2 separate regions of the Homo sapiens genome follow, and region 1 is linked to region 2. The links are contacts of gene promoters, found by promoter capture Hi-C in human tissues and cell types (Jung and others, 2019). All regions are on one chromosome and are shown on one strand. Each heading gives the region's core, a stretch centred on a gene start or on the middle of the fragment in contact. The rest is flanking DNA. Distances are from core to core; before and after follow the strand shown. Region 1 overlaps CDH17 (cadherin 17). Region 2 holds the start of GEM (GTP binding protein overexpressed in skeletal muscle).

What was found. The method cuts DNA at HindIII sites, captures the fragments that hold promoters and counts their contacts. A contact is called where the count stands out against the background at its distance.
Region 1: a contact is called between a fragment that was not itself captured here and the fragment with the promoter of GEM in region 2, in 2 of the 25 tissues and cell types used here (aorta and small bowel).

What each region holds. Positions count from the first base shown.
Region 1 is chr8:94,168,802-94,172,740 of GRCh38, reverse strand. CDH17 (cadherin 17) reads left to right here. Exons shown (of 18, transcript NM_004063.4): 8 at 1,756-1,887; 9 at 2,194-2,344. Among named protein-coding and RNA genes, the nearest start is that of CDH17, 38 kb to the left of the region's middle. The HindIII fragment of the contact is 6,412 bases long and covers 1-3,939 here.
Region 2 is chr8:94,260,169-94,263,950 of GRCh38, reverse strand. GEM (GTP binding protein overexpressed in skeletal muscle) reads left to right here and starts at 1,632. Exons shown (of 5, transcript NM_005261.4): 1 at 1,632-1,861; 2 at 3,439-3,778. The coding sequence starts at 3,448. RefSeq lists silencers at 2,321-2,390, 3,532-3,675. The HindIII fragment of the contact is 10,611 bases long and covers 1-3,782 here.

The sequences.
Region 1 (3,939 bases), core at 1,334-3,833, 92 kb after region 2:
TGATATTTTCTGGAAGCCCAGGAAATTCCTCCACATGAAAGCTGTGGGTTAGTGGGAGATCCCTGGATTTGGAAGCAGATGAACAAAATCATATTCCTGTTCCATCACTTGAATGACTGATCATAAACAAGTCATTTAACTATTCTGAGCCCCAATGTCTCATCAATAAAATAGGGATAATACTTCAGTGTTTTGTGAAGATTAACTGAGACAGTATCTGTAAAAGTAGATAAAAATATTAGATATAAAAGGTATTATTATGAAGAAGTACTAGTCTGTAGTTCCCCTAATTTTTTTTTAATGCTACTATTGTTAAGGGGCCCTGGAATGGCCTATTCCATCATATTTATTGGGATGGGCCCAGGGACATTTATTTATTGAATGTTGAATTAATGAACTTCAACTTCAGGAGGGAAAAAAAAGGAAGAACAGCAGGAAGAATTCTGATTTCCCAGTTAGAAAGAAAGCATGTCAGCACTCATTACCATGAGAATTTCTGATTGGGGGCCTAGACTAAAGTCTTCATAGCTATTATTCAGGTTACTCCCAAAGGGATTGGTAAATGCTGCAAAGAACTCATGCTTAGTTGCCTTGGGGCTGCCAAGGGAAAATTCTAGAGTGCCTACCCAATTTTCAGGTCTGGAAAAAATGCTCTGGGTGTTCTGAAACCCAAAAGGAGAGAGGGAGAAAGAGAGAGGGGGAGAGGGGGAAGGAGGAGCGGGAGAAGGGGAGGGAGGAGGGGGAGGAGGGGGAGGGGGGAGGGGGGAGGGGGAGATGGGAAGAGGAACTCAGACTGAATTTTTAGAACACAAGAGGAGCCCACTTTAGAACCAAGAAGGTAGTCTGCAGGGACAATGGGTGATGCTTAAATAATTAGCAAGGGACAAAGTTGCTGCTGTGATATCTTCCCAGGCTGCTCTGAGAATAGTTTACTGTGGAAATTTCAACTAGCAGTAGGACCTTGGGCAAGTCGCTTAAATTTTTTGTGCCCTAGTTTCTTCATTATAAAATAGAGATAACAGTAGTCTGTACGTCAGAGGACTGTTTGGAGATTAAATGAGATATAACACATAAATATGTTTAGAATTGTGTCTGGCATGTGGCAAACTCAGTAAACATTATTAATATATCAGACCAGGCTCTGTCTATATAGCAAGTAGACTGGTCTTACTTGTGTTTATTTTTTATTTTTGCCAGGTTGTTTACAAACAACCCTAGGAGTTGGCAGTTATTCTCATCCCTGAAGTCTCTGAGGCTAAATATTTAGGAAAGGAATGTCCTTATTTTTGTATCATTTGTCTTACTTAATGGCATGGAGAAGACTTCAGAGTGGCCCCTATTGCCCCTGTTCATCTTCATTGGTGAGTATTAGATGCTCACCATACATTGTGGCTTAGTCCTCAGACACTGCCAGCCACAAAGTACATTTTGTTTCTTAAATGGATGGTTCGTGGATAGAAAGCTTTCACAGTCAGACTTCCAAAAGAAAGCAGCCCAGAAACCCTGTAGAGGGTTTGTGAAGAATTGCTTTAGAGAAGAAACATTTCCTGGTGTGCTTTTTTCGAGCAATATAACTTGGTGGGGGGAAACAGGCTTATTTTAGGTTAAAAGTGAAAAACGTAATTCAGTTGTTACAAGAAACCACAAACATACAAGGTTGTCAGAGATTTCAAATTGAGAACTAGAAAATTATTTCCTTTCCAGTTCTCTCAGTCCAAATACAGCTTTCCTCACAACTGACTTTGGGCCCTGTAGGTGCGGTGGAATGATCCCGGTGCACAATATTCCTTAGTTGACAAAGAGAAGCTGCCAAGATTCCCATTTTCAATTGACCAGGAAGGAGATATTTACGTGACTCAGCCCTTGGACCGAGAAGAAAAGGATGCAGTGAGTAAAAGAGAAGAGTTTCACAGGCGACAAGACAAAGTCCTATGCCCATCTACAGTTGAGAGCAAAATGGATTTTACTTTAAAGAAAAAAAAAACACACATTTCAGACTCCAGCATATTATTGGTTTTCAAAGACATGATAATTTTCACATAATTCTGACCCATCTCAGTTTTTAAAATTTTCCAATTCTAAGTGAATTAAAAATAAGGGAGTAAATGACATAGAAATGAAACAACGATTTTCTCTGCTTTTGACAGAGGGTGGTGGGTGAGTCTTGCCTTAACTCTGACTTTCCTGTTGTAGTATGTTTTTTATGCAGTTGCAAAGGATGAGTACGGAAAACCACTTTCATATCCGCTGGAAATTCATGTAAAAGTTAAAGATATTAATGATAATCCACCTACATGTCCGTCACCAGTAACCGTATTTGAGGTCCAGGAGAATGAACGACTGGGTAAGAAATGAGAGCTGCCTAATGCTGTGTAACTGCCCTCCATTTCTCTCCTCTGCTGGGTAAAAGGTGAGCAGGAGACCTTACTGGGAGTCAGTAATCCATGTCTTCCACAGCATAGAGGTTGACTGTACCTTGGGAGTCACGTAAGGACCGTATTTGGGATCAAACAGTATCTGGATAGTATTCTTAAATTGGGGCTTTTATAGCTACCATTACCGCTACTACCATTATCACTATCATTATCAACCTTACTACTATCATTAGTATCACAGCCACCTACACTAGTATCTTATATACATGTATATAGGGATATCTCATTTGCAGGATTTCCCCATACGTTATTTGACTTCTAATAATCTCATTAAAGAGATAATCTCATCACATTTGCCAAAGAATTTAAACATTTACACCCAAAGTCAGACAGACACCCTGCAATAAGTAAGCAACACCAATGGAAGTTGACTTTTGACCCTTGGGCCCCCCTTTCCAAGAAGCTGATAATATAATTCAAGAGGCTGCTAGATGAAGTCAAATCCCATCTATTTTTATCATTTTTGCTTTGTCTTGCTATGTTTTCTTTTACTGTGTCCTGTGATAGCTTTTTAGTTTTTGTATAGGAACAACTACTATAAGAACATTATAATTTCTGGGAGTTTTATGGCTTCTCTGGGTTTGGGACAATGCTTGTCTGTTTCCCCCTTGGCAGTGAGCCCCTTGACTGAGCAGACTGGCATTTCTTGAACTGTTTTGTTCTGTTGTGCTGTGTACCTTTCAGAGGCTTCCAAGTGTAGCAGCCTCACGACTATCATTTCTAGAGCTTCACTGCCCTTGTGGAGAGATCCTCCTGTGCTTTGTGGATGGGCTCACATTTTCTTTTCGTCCCTCCATTCCTCACCAGACACACCTCTGACAGAGTGGGTGCCTTCCCGGAGGCTTGGTGGGCGCTGCTGGAGCGGCTTGCTCACACTGCTCATTATTTTTCTTCTTGCTATCAGGTGTCGTGTGGGCTGCCTTTTGTCAGTGTGTTCTGTGTCACTGTGTTCTGTGCAGGTCCTCTCTGTTTCATTTTTCTCAACTCTTGCCACAACAGGAAGAGTTAATGCCAGCTTGAAGGACTTCAGTTCGTTATAAGGAAGAATCTTCTCACAGTCACAGTAGTGTAACAGTAGCCAACAAACACGTGTGCCATCACCTTCTTGGGAAATCTGGGATGGTCTGTGACACTGAATAAAGGTGGAAAATCTTTGACAACTTTCTTGACCCGGACATGACACTTCAAGCCTCTTTTACATTGGGCCAATCATATAGTCTATTTGTTACCTATTTCTGCAAAACAGATTGCTCTAAATCTTGGCAGCTTGAAACAACAAGCATGTATCATGTCACAGTTTCTGTGAGTCTGGAATCTGGGTGAAGTTCAGCTGGATACCTCTAATTCAGAGAGTTCTGAGAGAGAGGGAAAGAGTACGGCAGAGCAGGAAAGGACAGGCATCAGTCTTTCTATGACCTAATCTTGGAAGCGATCCCATCACTTTTGCCATTAGAAACAAGTTGCTAGGTCCAGCCTGCACTCAACAGGATGGGGTTCTGAAAAA
Region 2 (3,782 bases), core at 383-2,882:
CCCATCTCCTCTCCTTTTCCTTTCCCCACATCTGTAGCCACTTCCTGTCAGCGAAACCCAGAAGAAAAACTTGACAGAAGCAAAGGGCATCCAGAGAATTATGATCCCCAGGTTGTAGTTCCAGTTCTGTCATGTCCTAAGCGGTCATCTCCTCTCTGGGTCTCAGGTTTCTTATGTATAAGATAAGTAGGAGATTGGGGCCACAACACCTGAGACTAAAGGAATTCTAAGTTTTCATTACTCTATGGATTCCACCTTTGCTAGCTTGGGACCTGGCAGGTCTCAGCAGCTGGTCATGTAGCTAATTCTCAAAGCAGATAAATGCCTGCAGGATAACTGTGAATTGACTCTAATCACAGCAGAGTCCAGCTGCTTCAATAGATGCTGGTGCCTTTGGCTGCTTCCCGGAGCCACCAGCCAACCCAGAGTTGAAGCTGGCTGGAAAAGCAGATATGTTGGAGAGGCCAGCATCATCTCTAAACACAGCATCTGGGAAATACCCATGTCCCCAGAAAGAGGTCATTGAAATCCTTCACTTGGTGGTGCAGTGCAGAGACTCAGGAAAACCAGGCTTTGAGTCCTGACCCTGCCACTTATACCAGCGGTGTGACCTTGGGCAAATTCTCTGGCCCTATGTTATCTTCCTCCTCCATACAATGAGGGTAGAAATAGAGCCACCTTGCAGAAGTATAGTAAGGATTAAGGTCCCAGGAGGCCTAACAGTACCTACTAAGCAGAGGTCCTCAGAGGTACTTAATAAATGGTAGTAGTAGTTATTATCCTGTGCCCTTTGTTCACAGGAGTCTCTTACAGGGGTGTTGGTCTCAGTGCTCCTCCCCATGGCCAGGCTGTATTGGCTCATGCCCAAGGCGTAGCCTTGCCAGGGAGCCTGGTACAGAGATGCTGCTGATTGGGATGCTGATTAAATTCCCTGATTGAGGAGCCTCAGCATTCTGGCCCAGAGCAGGAGGGCCAGCAATATTTAGCACAATCTGCTTGGATCCTCAATTAAATTGTTTTTCCAAACTGCCCTTTTCAAGGTCTTGTCCTCTTTCCTCACCTCTTTCTGGCCCCTTCTCTCTGGGTCCTTGCCAGAGAAGGGAAACAAAGCCTTGTGGGGCTCCATCTGCTTCCCCCTATCCAGAAGAAGGTGACAAGGCTGTCTTCGTTGCAGAAGATGTGGTTAAAACAAGCCTTGGCTATTCAAGGTGGCTGCAGTCTCATCCTGGAGGCTAAAGTCTCTGCGCATTCCAGGTTGATCTCTGTTTTCTTGGCAAAACTGAGTTCTCAACTCAAACCTGCCTCTCCCTTCCATCCTTTATCCCGACAGCTCGCAAGTGCTTTGCTGGGAAGGACGATTAAGTGTCACTTAGTGTATTTTTCCATTTTCCTGTGTTCATCTGGTAAAAAGAAAATAAAACAAAATAAAGGAGGCCCAGGATTGAACTGTCATTATTTTTTAAATGGAGAGAGAAGGGGTCACATGACTGCGAGTAACTGATTTAGCCAAGTGGCTGCAACTCCGAGTTTGCTGCAGAGCCGCCCCCTCCCGGCGGGGGCGCTGACGTCACGGAAAAGCCCCGCGGCGGGTCGGCTGGGCTGGTTATAAACCGCCCGGCCGCGGCGGCTGCAGGCGGCGGGCAAGGACGGCGGGCACAGCGCAGCACTCCCCGCTCGTTGGCCCGGGTATCCCAGCGCGGACCCACGCGATACGCTGACGCCCCGACGCCGATCCGGCCGAGCCAAGTAAGGGGGACGGCCCGAGACGGAGAAGGGAGAGAGTGGGAGTTTCCCAGCCCGCAGAACTTTCGAAGTTGAGAAAAGAACCCCTGGAACGTGCGCTCAGCACTGGGATTTTCTGGTAGGGGTCAGAGCTTCAAGTGCAAAGGATGTCGCTTCTCATCAGCAGGTTCCTTAGTTCAATTCGGTAGAAGGGTCACCTCCCTCTACAGATCGAGTGGTCAGAGAGGGCAGCCCTTAATGATGCTTTATGTATTTGTTGTTTGAATGTAAGTCTGCCAACTGAGGTGCTGCTTTTGAGACTAAAAAACCGGCTGGTCGTCCTGGTTAGTGGCGAGATGTTGGGGTACGGAGTGTGGGGGTGAGGGTGGGAGAGGAGTGTTTGTGCATCTTGCTGATTGCAACGTAAGTACTTATACTTTATCACCAGTAGCCGGAAAAACAGACCTCCCGGCTAGGGGAGGCAGTCTGCAAAGGGAAAGTTGTAGAGAAGTTGTTGAATATCATTTAGGGGAGTCTTCAGCCTTCTGATTTGCTTCAAGAAGGGGATCTGAGAATGGTGGCTCAGGCCTGTGATCTCAGCACTTTCGGAAGCCGAGGCAGGAGGATCACTTGACCCCAGGAGTTCGAGACCAGCCTGGGCAACATAGTGAGGCCACTGTCTCTACCAAAAAATAAAAATAAAAATAAAAAAACTAGTGGACGTGGTAGTGCAGGTCTGTAGTCCCAGCTACTTGGGAGGCTGAAGTGGAGGATCTCTTGAGCCTGGCAGTTGGAGGCTAGCTACAGTGAGCTATGATCGTGCCACTGCACTCCAGCCTGGGTGACAGAGCAAGACCCTGACTCAAAAAAGGAATCTGAGTTGAATTAAAGAACTCTTGAGAATGGATGTGGTTTTTTAAGAATGAGGCACTTTCTCTGCAAATTTCATAGGTCTGAACATGAGCAGGTCATTTCTCTGCCAGGGTGTCTAGGTTTGGAGCCGGGATGTTTTAAAAGTGGTATCTGTGGGTAAGAGGGCACAGCTGAGGCATAAACTTTAAACAGAAAATTTCCCCCCTACCCCCAATAATGGCAGGTGGATGCTCTCCAGGCAGCTGGAGAGCATCAAGGCAACTTTACTAAACATGGAAGTTCCAATAAGTGCCTGTCCAGTCCAGCCAGGGTTGCAGTGGGCAGGGGAGGGGAGGGTGATGTCATTGCCACGTGTTTCCCACTGAGGCACAAAACCTGCTGGACACTGGTGCAATTAAGAGCCAAGTTTAGACAAGAGCAGCTAACCTGACCAGCTGGTCCCCAGCAACATTAACTTGTTGCTTTTCAAGCCATCTTTGGAGTCTGCTGGTTCTTTCCAGCTGCCTTTGTGCCAGCTCTGAGTGCAGCTCTTCTTTCATCCAAGTCTGCTTTGAGGAAGGGGGAAGCCCATGGGCAGTGGGTGATGTTAACCGTATTTGTTTTCCCATGCAAATGATAGTCTGCCTGAGGAGCTGGTTACTGACAGTGTGGGCAGCATGTGTGTGTCCAGTTGAAAGCCTGTCTTGTTGGGGTTTGGGGGACTGTTTAATTGGTGGTCTTTATGTTAGGGATACTTGCTTCTCATCTCATCTAATAAAATATTACTGATGACTGACCATGTATTTGAGCGGAGCTCTCACTCATGCTTACTAATGCTGCCATCTTGGCTGCTTTGCTCCCCAGGACTCAACGATGACTCTGAATAATGTCACCATGCGCCAGGGCACTGTGGGCATGCAGCCACAGCAGCAGCGCTGGAGCATCCCAGCTGATGGCAGGCATCTGATGGTCCAGAAAGAGCCCCACCAGTACAGCCACCGCAACCGCCATTCTGCTACCCCTGAGGACCACTGCCGCCGAAGCTGGTCCTCTGACTCCACAGACTCAGTCATCTCCTCTGAGTCAGGGAACACCTACTACCGAGTGGTGCTCATAGGGGAGCAGGGGGTGGGCAAGTCCACTCTGGCCAACATCTTTGCAGGTGTGCATGACAGCATGGACAGCGACTGCGAGGTGCTGGGAGGTAG